Linked DNA regions of Homo sapiens: region 1 is linked to region 2. The links are contacts of gene promoters, found by promoter capture Hi-C in blood cells and fetal thymus (Javierre and others, 2016). All regions are on one chromosome and are shown on one strand. The core of a region is centred on a gene start or on the middle of the fragment in contact, and the rest is flanking DNA. Distances in the headings are between cores, read along the strand shown.

Region 1 (6,351 bases), core at 2,229-4,728, 140 kb after region 2:
GGATTTTAATTTTATGGTGTAATCTGAATTAAGAAAGATTTAAAATTTACCAGATGTTCAAAAATATTAGTATATAGTATGGTACCCAGAAGAGAATGGTGTTCCACTCAGTGACACTTCCATATGTTGTGAATTTATGTGTGAGGAATGTCAGTGGACTAATTGGCCCCTCCCTTTGGAGGATGTACTGTCAGCTGTGCTTGTGCCAGAATCTCCAGGTTTATTTGATCTCTGTAGAGTACTTTTTTTTTTTTTTTGAGACGGAGTCTCACTCTGTTGCCCAGGCTGGAGTGCAGTGATGCAATCTCAGCTCACTGCAAGCTCCGCCCTCCAGGTTCACGCCATTCTCCTGCCTCAGCCTTGATCTATGTAGAGTCCTTTTATCAGAGTGCTATAGACATCTTCAACCTCAGTTTACATAGTGTTTTGAAAACTAACTAGGGGAATGAGGAGGTGGTAGTCGGTGAATAATGAAGGAACAAACCAATTCATGTAGCAAAAAAAAAAAAAAAAACCTAACTGGTAGTATGCATTGAAACTTAACACAAAGATTCTTTTTCCTGTTACTGTAGGAGCAAAACATAAACTGACTATACCTATCTTAATCAGTTTCACATACAAGATCCCTGAAAAATAGTGGGTATGGATGGGCACCAGGTGAGCCACCATGAAGTTTCTCTACCACAACCACCACCCCTGCCCCTGGTAAAAAAAGAGGAAGTTAAAAGGCTTTGGTGATTCCTTACTCCAGTCTCAGCAGTGGTGAAAGTTCTCTTTTGAAGGTTGACTTATTTTAAAAAGCTATATAGATGATTGTAGTTGATTTATAGCTCTGAATCCTAGGCTTTAGGCCTTTAACATATACACAGTTTGACCTTTCAGTAGTTGCAGTTTAATAATAGTAAAATTGAAGAGTAGGTGTTTATTCCCGGTTAAAGCCAATACCTACCACAGAATTTTTCTTGGTAAAACTTCATAAATACTGTATATTTCAACCTCTGAGTTTTAAAAATGTCATTTTAAGATTTTGTTCCTAAAAATCAAATAAACAAGGATCAGAAACAGTAAGTTTGGAAGGGTGCTATTAACAGAGATTCAGGGACCAGTTTTACCTTTGTTAAAGTGTTGTTTAAAAATGTGGGAGTGGAAAACCCTGAAAATGCTGCAGCTGAATGATGTGTTTCTGTAGTTTCCACTCTTTAGTCCATACTGAATATTTAGATAAAGAAAGGAAAAGGTGAAGAAAAATAAGAGAGCTTACCTGTTAATATTTCTTTGAGGACAGAAGCTAGTAAACATGACAAGTTTTTCTTGACTGTCTTATCCAATGCTGTTCTTCCCTCTGGCCATCCTAGATTAAGTGTTTGGCCTACAGAAACTGTACTTTCAGGATATGGCACCCAAGGCACCCAGCCCATGTGGGTTTACTAGTGCACGCTTGCTTGTGTGCAGGTTTGGGTGCCTCTTCCCCACACCTTTCACAGACTTCCTTTGGGAATAACTGCCTCATCTTCAGGATAAGTAGCGTTTTCTTCCAATCCTGGACAGTCAGTGAGTCATGAGTGAAATTTAAATGCTGAGAGTTTAGTCTGCTAAATGTTAAATCCTTTTCTGCCAAAGCAATAATGATAACAGAAATAATGATAACAGAAATTCAAAGCAATAATGATAGATTTGAAAGCTTTTAAAAAAGCTATTGTGTAAGTTAACAAATGATTTTTATTTTGTTAGTAAAGGAAAGGTAGGAGAAGCTGATTCATTTGGCTTCCTGTCGTTATTCCTATAGAATACCTCTAACATAATAGATTCTTAAATTAGTCTTTTCACAAAACGTTAATTTTAATGGAATTACTTTGATTCTGATTCATTTTTTTAAGAATAGAATTTTAACTCTCCTTCAGATTTATTGGCTTTTGTGCTTATGCCTACCAGGTAGCATCTTTCATCTTTTATGACTTACTATGATAGCTGAATGATTTTGTCACACTGTTTCTTTTTTGGAGTAGTTATTATTTTGCTGTCTCATTTTAGCAAGACTTATACCTACTTACCTTCACTTTTGAAAACTTTAATTTTTATGTAAATGAATTTAAACTTTTTTTGTGGTGTGTGTTTATTTTCAAGAAGTGTAAACCTGCTGATAGCTTTCTTTAAATTTTTTCTTATTGATTGTGTTGATAGAAACTTTCTAGAGCTCAAGTAAAGCGCATTTTTCTGAGTGTTTAAAAGATAAATTGAGGCCCCCTAATTTCTTTGGAAGAAAAGCTCCATAGCCTGCACAAAGCCTGTAAGTAGTATTAGAAGCTTACATATTCATACACTATAAATAAAAAGGACTTTTGTAAGCCATGTAATGGATTTGCAGTGTTTGCACTTAATAGCACAGATCAGAACTCCTTTGCTCATACAGTTGTCTGAAATGTTCTTCCTTCTTCAGAGATAGACCTGTTTTTTGTTTTTTATTATGAAAGAAAAATAATCCTCATATGTTCTCGGTCTAGTTTCTAAATAGATGGTCAGTAAGCTACTGTGTGGGATTACTTGGGCTCCATAGTTTGCTGTGTAGCACAGATGCCAGACCTAGGACCATTATGTGGGCCTGAGCAAGTAACATCCAGGAGTAAAAATGCTGGGCAGGTAGTTTACTTTTGCTGATTAAGGGTGAGGTCAGAAAAATTATCGTTGAGTTATAGTTTACTTTGGGCTTATGGATTCTTTCTCTAATATAAAATAGCTTCATTTGAGTTCCAGGAAGTAGTGATCGTTTGTAAATACTCTTAGGAGATAAATGAAACCGGGTGTCTTAAGTGTTTAAATAGTGGCTTTAAATCAGGTAGTGTATACTAGTGCACTGTGAATATACTTGCATAAATTATTCAATGAATTTTTGGGTCCATTGAGTGTAGAGTGTTGGTTTCCTAATACTAGAAAAATTATATCTTATTTCCTAAGGATTAAGTTTGGAGATCAGATCCTACCTGACATTTAAAGGAAGTTTTGCTTAAGATTGTTACTCAAAGTCTGTTAGCTCTTCAACTGCTAATCTGGAATTGTAGAAGGGCACTTTTGAAATCTGACTCTGCTTGAGTAAAAAGGTCAGTGTGTTGGGGACTTGGGGTATGGCAGTTTGCCAAAAACTCTTCTTATTCTTGTTATAGCAGGTATAGAGAATATTCAAATTTCTTCTAAGATGTTTGAGAAGAAAGTTTGGTTTGGTAAGTGTTCACAAAGTAGATGAGAATCTTCCACCAAATCTTTTTTCTTATTTGTTTGCATAAACATTATCTTAAAGTGGCATGGTTCATCGAATTTTGAACTTTGATGAGTTTTTCTTTTACTTCTTTGAAAAACTCTGGGTTTTTCTTTTTTTACTTTCTTATTTCAGATCTTAGTTATAATTCCTTTTTTTTTTTTTACAAAGTAGTTCGATTTTTTAAAGTTTAGATATACTTCACAGTGAAGTCTATGTGTGATAGAGATAAGACTAGGTCTAATCTTGGTGTTTGTAACTTCCTCAGGTGAACTGTGACCTTTATAGGCCAAGCGACTGCTGCCTCGGCTTGGTTCTTATTTTGAGGGTTAATGACTTTGGCTGGAAAGTCTTGGCAAGGACTTATTTGGTGGTATTATGGTAGCATTTGCCTGAACATATTCTATAAAGAGAAACAGAATGTAAATTCCAGGATTTAAATGTGTGTTTTTAAAAATAAGGATTTAAAAATTTAGCATCAGTATAATTTGACCCATTAGACCAGATATAATAGCTTTAACAAAGTATGTTGATGTGTTTATGTGTGAAAAATTCACTAACTATAAAAAGACTCTTAAGTTTTCATTAGTTCTGATAACTTCTGTGCCAATGAATGGAATACCACCACTGTTGCATGTGATTGAATGCTTAATTATAGACATATCATTTAGGTACGTAATCTATGGGAGAAGGATTTTCCTTCCTGTCTCACAAGAACCATCATAATATTTCATATAGATTATAAGACAGGTTCTTCTAGAAAGGTTTTAAAATTCCTTTTGCTAATGCAGCCTTACTATAAACTGGGGACTTAATGAAATCTTCAATAGTCATCATATCATGAATCATCCTTTGGATATGAAATTCTAAACCAAACTCTTGTAGAAATTGGCTCTTTTTCACTTTCTTTAAAGGACTTTTTAAGTACAGTATAAGAAATTAGAGATTTTTATTCGGTCTAAATTCTGTCCAGATGACTGAACAGCTAAGACTTTAATTCATATTAAGTCTGTGAAAGAGAGCTCACTCTCTGACGTATTTTAATCTGTATGTTCAGTGAGTGTGGAAAGATGTGTTGCCTTTTTATATGGCCTCATTTGAAGTAGACCGACTTATTCTACAAATTGCCATGAAGAGCAAGTTCTTGATTAGGTAAGAAAATACTCTTTAGTTAAGGACCTGTAAAGTTTGGAAGTTCACAAAACCACCTGCACTTCTGACACTCATTGCAAGTTCATGGTTTCCCAAGGCCACCCTAAAGTTCTATAATTATCTAGAAGGACTTTAAAAGCTCACTGAAAGCTATTATACTCACAGTTATGACTTATGGCAAAAGATACAGATTAAAATAGGCTGAGGAAAGACACGTGGGCAACCCAGAAAGTTTCAAGTGCAAAGCTTCTAGTTGTCTTCTCCCAGTGGAGTCATAGGCAGTGCTGACTTTTCCCAGTAACAGTATGTATCATTATGCATGGAGTATTACCCACCAAGGTAGCTCACCTGAGCCTTGGGTCTAGAGTTTTTATCAGGACTTGGTCATATAGACACCATTGACTGCCTGTGAGGCTGACCTTTAGTCTCCAGCTCCTCCAGAGGTTGAGCTGTTACCTATCACTGCATGGCCCAGACCCCCCCATAAATCACACTGTTAGACTGTCTGGTGTAGATAAAGAACACTCTAATTAGTCAGGAAGTTCTGAGGGCTTAGACATCACCTCCAGGAGCCAAGGGCAAAGGCGTGGCCTCTCTGGGTAAAGTTAATTCTTTACTACACAGAACCAAGCTGTAAGGCATTTTGCCTTATTTTGCTTGAACTTTAAAAATATCCGAATACAGGAGCTGCTGCTACCGTCGCTGCAGCCACGGCAGGCACCGCCACCGCTGCCAGAGGAGTGGGCTTGGGAAAGAAGTGGTCACCTCACTTGGAGCTTTGCTCAGAAGCATCCTCGTCCCCTGCAGCCCTCCCACGGGAACGACTGGATAAAAGTGAGCTGGTACAGAAAGCCAACTCACTGAGCAGGCTGAGCGCTATGATGATATGGCTGTAGTCACGAAGGCAGTCACAGAACGAGGCATGAATACTCCAACGAAGAGAGAAATCTGCTCTCTGTTGCCTACAAGAACATGGTTGGTGCCCGCTGCTTTCCTGGCATGTCTTCTCCAGCATTGAGCAGAAAACAGAGGAATGAGAAACAGCAGCAGATGGGGAGAGAGTAGCATGAGAAGATAGAGGCAGAACTGCAGGACATCTGCAATGACGTTCTGGAGCTGTTGGACAAATATCTTGTTCTCAATTCTATACAACCATTTTCTATTTGAAAATGAAAGGAGATTATTTTAGGTATTTTTCTGAAGTGGCATCTGGAGACAACAAACAAACCACTGTGTGGAATTCCCAGCAGGCTTACCAGGAAGCATTTGAAATTAGTAAGAAAGAAGAAATGCAGCCTACACATCCAGTTTGACTTGGTCTGGCACTTAATTTCTCAGTCTTTTACTATGAGATTCTAAACTCTACTGAAAAGGCCTGCAGCCTGGCAAAAACAGTATTTGATGAAGCAATTACTGAATTGGATACACTGAATGAAGAGTCTTATAAAGACAGCACTCTGATCATGCAATTACTTGGGACAGTGTTACTCTGTGGACATCGGAAAACCAGGAAGATGAAGGAGATGCTGGGGAGGGAGAGAAGTAATGTTTCTTGTGCTTTGTAATCTGTTCAATGTCACTCTGTACCCTCCACGTATATCCCTTGTGTGGTAAAAAATAATTGTATGTTGACTTTGGATTTTTCACAGCCTCAGCCTAGCAAAAATGGTTCATGGGATAAACAGCTGGTGTTTGTATTCTAAAACTCAGATTGGTCACATAAATGCCACGGCATTCTGAAGTTTTGATTTTGATTAACATTGACAGGATTACTGTGTGTTTAATTTTTTTTAATTCAACACTGTGATTATGGGGTTTTGTAATTTAGCAAAACTCTTACTTGTAGAAAAAATAGACCTGAATTATGTGTAACTTTTTGGAAAGTTTAATCTGATACCAGAATCATTGAAATACAATTCCATTGTAAAGTTGTACAGAAGGTTATAGAG
Region 2 (5,893 bases), core at 2,405-4,904:
AACAGAAACTTGCCTAAGGACACACAGCCCTTCCACAGCAGAGCCTGGACCTGCGGTTGGCAAAGACCCAGTTCATTCCATTCTTTCTGGTTCATACTACCCGAGTTTACCTTTTTACCAACAGCCTCTACCCACCACCCTGGTTATTGCATATCACTCGCCTTTTCTTCATCACCAAGTATCCTGAAGTATCACACTCACCTGTCCTTCCTCATGCCCAGAGTCTAACTGTCACCCAGGCTGGAGTGCAGTGGTATGATCTCGGCTCACTGCAACCTCCATCTCCCGGGTTCAAACGATTCTGCTGCCTCAACCTCCCAAGTAGCTGGGACTACAGGCACCCACCGCCATGCCCAGCAAATTTTTGTATTTTTGTAGAGACAGGGTTTTGCCATGTTGGCCAGGCTGTTCTCGAACTCCTGACCTCAGGCAATCCGCCTGCCTCGGCCTCCCAAAGTGTTGGGATTACAGGTGTCAGCCACCTCGCCCGACCTTCACTTACTTTTCTGACCTTTATTTCCTAGCATTCTCCTAAATACACCCACTACTTGTTCTTTCAACCCTTTAATGTGCTTTTCACACTCTCTAAATGTAATGTTGTAGCTGGAATTCCAACACTTCTAGAGTTGCCAGATAAATACAAGACACCTAAAGTTGAATTTCAGATAAACAACAAATGATTTTTGGTGTATGTCTTTCCAATTTAACTGGATGGGCTGGGCATGGTGGCTCATGCCTATAATCCCAGCAATTTGGGAATCCCAGCAATTTGGGAATCCCAGACGGGCAGATTACTTGAGCTCAGAAGTTCAAGACCAGCCTGGGCAACATGGTGAAACCTCATCTCTACAAAAAATACAAAATTTAACCAGGCGTGGTCGCATACACCTGTGGTCCCAGCTACTTGGGAGGCTGAGGTGGGAGGATGGCTTGAGCCCAGGTCGAGGTTGCAGTGAGCCGTGATTGCACCACCATACTCCAGCTTGAGTGACAGAGCAAGATCCTAACTGGATGTCCACATTTTTATTTGCTAAATCTGGCAACGCTATTCCCCACACTTTGTATCCCTAATACAGTTAGCACTTTCTGTTTTACATAATTGTTACTTGTGTTCACACAAGAATTAAAAGTTCTGATCAGGCAGGCAGGATATGGGTCTTTCTTTGTATCATCCATAAGGTTGGGCACACAGTAGTAGTTTCCCAGGAAGTATTTGCTGAACTCGATGATAGAATGTTTTACAAGGATACAGGAAAATTGCTCCTCTCATTCCTTACCTCATTCCCACCTCCAGCAGTTGTTCTTGATTTTGACTAACTAGGTATTAGTTACCTAATCCAAGCCCTTTTTTACATTATAACTCCATGTACATAGACTTGTACCAGTTCAAATGGGCTAACTGAAATATAGAGTCTGGTTTGGGTAATCTAAGGGTTCTAGTCTTGGCTCTCCGATTGACTAATGGTACAGTATAAGTCTAATTTCATCTCTTCAAGCTTCAGCTTTTCATCTATAAAACAGTAACAGGAAATGCCTTATACAACACTCATGATCAAGTCAGATAATCCATGTCAAGCACTAAGCATATAGTAATGGCTCAATGTATGCTAAGTACTACAATATTGAATCTTGGGAGCTTTCCACTTATCGATTCATTAATTTGGTCAAAAAATCTTTGTTGCAACTTTTATGTGCATTAGCAGGGAACTGTGCTGGTGATGGAAATAGTGATGGGTAAAATAGGCTTATGCCCATTTTCATAGCTCTGTCTATCACAGATATAGCCAATAGTTTAAAAAAAAAAAAGAACAAATATGTAATTACAAACTGTAAAATGTTGCATGAAGGGAAATACTGGGGGGCTGTAAGAATTTATAAAAGGGGCCCTGAGATAGCTCAGGAAGAGCTTCCTTGAGAAATGATGGTTGGCATTAATTGAAAACACCATATGCCAGTGTATTCGTTTGCTAGGGCTGCCAATAACAAAGTACCACAGACTAGGTGGCCTAAACAACAGACATTTATTGTCTTAACAATTCTGGTGGCTAGAATTCCATGATCAAGGTGTGGTTACCTTGAGGTCTCTCTCCTTGGTTTGTACATGGCTGTCTTCTCCCTGTGTTTTCACAAAACGATGTAGGAAAGAAAGGCTAATCTATAATCAGAGGAACAAACGCAGCTGCCTGTTATGTAGCTCAGGTTCCATAATAACATTCTTTTAAGGCGCAAAATAACTTAAAGTTCCAACAGCTTTGATTTTGAATTACGTTCGCAGCATTAAACCATCAAAGAGTAAGAGCCAGCAGCTTTGTCTAGCATGTTTTTTGTTTTTTTTTTTTGAGACGGAGTCTCGCTCTGTCGCCCAGGCTGGAGTGCAGTGGCGGGATCTCGGCTCACTGCAAGCTCCGCCTCCCGGGTTCACGCCATTCTCCTGCCTCAGCCTCCCAAGTAGCTGGGACTACAGGCGCCCGCCACTACGCCCGGCTAATTTTTTGTATTTTTAGTAGAGACGGGGTTTCACCGTTTTAGCCGGGATGGTCTCGATCTCCTGACCTCGTGATCCGCCCGCCTCGGCCTCCCAAAGTGCTGGGATTACAGGCGTGAGCCACCGCGCTCGGCCTGTCTAGCATGTTTTAACAGCTTGACATATTTACATACTGTATCATTCTCACCCGTCTTAAGTGTACGATTTTTAGTACATGTATAGTGCAACCATCCCCACAATCCAGTTTGGAGGCATTTCCATCCCACCGAAAAGATCCCGAGTACCTGTTTGCTATCAATCCCCTGGCGGGTTCCCACTTGCAGACCCAGGTTTGCCTAATTATTTTCAGTGTTTTTGCTAAGTCGAAATGACCTTACAGATCCAAGATAACTCTCCAAAAGAAGTCAGGACTAGGATCCCAATGAATATGAATATGAAGCATATGTTCATCAGTACACCAAAGTTATGTCAAGGCTGGGTCTGTATGTGAAATTCCTTAATCCATTGCCTGAGCAAAAACACAGGTTGGCTGCTCCACATAAAACTTACTTTCTAAACGGGGCAAAAGAAGTAAGCGCGTGCCCCCATCCCCGGCACGCGTGCATCTGAGTAGGAGGTAAGCGCACGGCATGTGGCCGAATTTGATGAGTAATGGGCATCCAAGACAGGACCACGGCGCTGCTGTGTGCGCCTGCGCAGCTTCGCGAGCGCCTAGACACAAGTAGCCCAAACCCCGGCTCGAGATCCGTCTGTTCAGCTGTTGTGGCGCCGCCGTTTTGGATCTAAGCGCCTACCCGTGACACCCAGAGAACCCAGGCCTGGCAAGTAAACCCTCTACCCCCTCACTTTCTCTACCCAGCGCTCACAAGGAGCAACAAGATGACAAGACCGCGCGCCCGGGCCACCAGGGAAGCCGCTCTCTCGCTTAGCCACACCCCCTTGGTTGCTAAAATGCCTAGTCCCTGCCCCTCGGGTCGACGCCAGCAGCCACGTATCACGTTTGTACGTGTCTCGGCCTAAAAGCGGAAGTTACGCAGGGACTCGCGAGCGCTGTGGCGGCCCTGAAAGGATATAGGCCGTGGAGGGAAGGGGGCGGGCAGACGGCATAGGAAGGCGCCGGAAGTGGTCCCGCAGAGGCGGGGTGGGAGTGGGGCTCCCGAGGCAGTGCAGTTGGCTGTAGCTGGGCGCCTCGGTTAGGTGCGCTGTCAGTCCTTTCCGAGTGCCTGGCCCAGTCTCTCCCGCCTCGGCCCAACATGGACTTCAGAGAAATTCTCATGATAGCTTCCAAGGGACAAGGTGTCAACAATGTGCCGGTAAGTAGCAGCTGGGGCATCAATGTAGGGGACCCTAGTCTTCCAAGTTCGGAATGTGTGTGGCCCATGGAACTTCTGGGCAGCCGCCTATCGGCTCCGGGAGAGGAAAGACCCGGACGCCTTATTTCCTTTTCTTGGGTTTATACTCTTGGGAACTCGGGAGAAAAGAGCTTGGGACGAGACGCGGGAGCCTTCCTGTGAATGGGTTTCGCCGGCTTATTTACCCCTGCAACAGGGACTTTGCGGTTTGGGTGTTGTAGCTAGAATTGCGTGAAAGCCGTGAGTGAGCTGTGCCTGGCACGCTGTGGATTCTAGCGCTGGTAGTTTTTGGCTTCCACATAAACTTCAGCCTAGAGATTGGGAAGGAAATATGTATGTAAGGGAGTTAGGGGGTTTGGGGTCCTTGGCTTGATAGCTTTTTGGCTGGCTTCTCATCGATCTTCAAGTCAAACGTTTAGCGATTTCTTGAAAGAATTCTCTGACTCGGCCCCACCCACTCAGCCACCGAGGTGATTAAATTATCACCTCCCAGGGGATAGGTATCATCTTTTGGGAAGAGAAGTTTAGCAGATTCCACGAAATCCTTGGCCAACAGAATAGGTGAGCTAGTTTCAGCTTCTGTTTACTTGTAGCCTTCCAGATTTCAGTCTTTGTTTAAAATCTAGGTCCCATTTGGTCAGTAGATGTTTGTCAGTTCGCTTACAGTCGCAAGAGCGGTGTAAGACTTAAATGGTAAAGTGGTGGAGAGCGCCTGGTTTCTGGGGGTTATGGCTGTTTTGCATAAGCTAATCATTTCCAGATTTTCAGATGGTACCCACAGCACAGCTGTAAACCGATAAGTTGCATGGTGATGCCTGCGGTTTGAGCAGTGAGGTATAGAACTAAAACGGCTCTCAAAGTCAATTCAGCTAGAATTTATTGAGCTCCGACGAAGTGCTCTGCATTTCCTAGATATTCGTATATTGCAATATTCGTTTTTTTCTCTTCTGCAGCTTTTTTTTGTCTTCTGAGGCTAGTTCATTCTTTTATCCCTTTGAAAATATTGATCTGAAAAAGGTCTATATTTATGTTTATAAATATATGTATATATACACACACACAGCCATCCCTTATCCCAAGAACTCTGAATAACCATTCCTCTAAGCCGTGAGTCATAAGCTTTGCATGTTGAAGGTATAGACTCAAACCTTTGAAACCCAGATCAACAGATTTACTTTCTAGAAGCATCTGTAAATTTTCCAGATGAATCAATATTGGGTCTAGTAACCATTCATCTTTGCATAATTTGGTCTGTATTTCATTCTAGATCTTATTGAATTTCAGTAAAGGTCAAAGATAGTACTAGCTTTGATGCCCAGTACTGTTCTGTGGAAGAATCAGAACTAAGTCATTTCTTATTCTGAAAGCCAGTAGCTGCTGGGAGAAAAGCAGACAGATAATCCTAAAGCAGAAAATTTCAAAATATGTGTATATGTCATAATATATGCATTATCTATGATTGGAATAACAGAAGAATCAAAAAGGGGAAAAAAGTAATTTAAAATTTAATAGATGGGCGCAATGGCTCAGGCCTGTAATCCCAGCACTTTGGGAGGCCTAGGCGGGAGAATCACCTGAAGTCAGGAGTTTGAGACCAGCCTGACAAATATGATGAAACCCCATCTCTACTAAAAATACAAAAATTAGCCGGGCATGGTGGTGTGCGCCTGTAATCCCAGCTACTTGGGAGGCTGAGACAGAATTGCTTGAACCCAGGAGGCGGAGATTGCAGTGAGCTGAGATCGTGCGATTGCACTCCAGCCTGGGCAACAAGAGAAAAACTTCATTTCAAAAAAAAAAAAATCAATAGATAATATAGCCATATATTTTATGAATCATGCATTCTCTGACCTCTCCCCGCCAAAGCTAGTAAGCCTAGAAGTTTGATTTAGTTACCAGCATTATAATTCTTATCTTTTTATGTGGAATTAAAGTCACAAAAGAAACTATTGAGGAATAGGATAAGACTGTAGTTAAATTTCTTCTTCTTCTTTTTTTTTTTTTTTAAGATAGAGTCTCACTCTGTCGTCCGGGCTGGAGGCTGGAGTGCAGTGGC

Evidence for each region. Contacts are between HindIII fragments. The CHiCAGO score rates a contact against its expected background, and 5 or more counts as called.
Region 1: a contact is called between a fragment that was not itself captured here and the fragment with the promoter of SPTY2D1 in region 2, in 1 of 17 cell types (neutrophils). The highest score is 5.1, in neutrophils.

The regions. Positions count from the first base shown.
Region 1 is chr11:18,489,830-18,496,180 of GRCh38, reverse strand. All of the region lies in intron 7 of TSG101 (tumor susceptibility 101), which reads left to right. It also overlaps the pseudogene YWHABP2. Among named protein-coding and RNA genes, the nearest start is that of TSG101, 34 kb to the left of the region's middle. The HindIII fragment of the contact is 2,344 bases long and covers 2,307-4,650 here.
Region 2 is chr11:18,632,103-18,637,995 of GRCh38, reverse strand. It overlaps SPTY2D1 (SPT2 chromatin protein domain containing 1), which reads left to right and starts at 3,654. Exons shown (of 6, transcript NM_194285.3): 1 at 3,654-3,798. The coding sequence starts at 3,739. It overlaps LOC105376578 (a long non-coding RNA gene), which reads right to left and starts at 3,647. Exons shown (of 2, transcript XR_931097.3): 1 at 3,035-3,647; 2 at 2,003-2,116. RefSeq lists an enhancer at 3,164-3,433 and a silencer at 4,490-4,669. The HindIII fragment of the contact is 3,460 bases long and covers 1,499-4,958 here.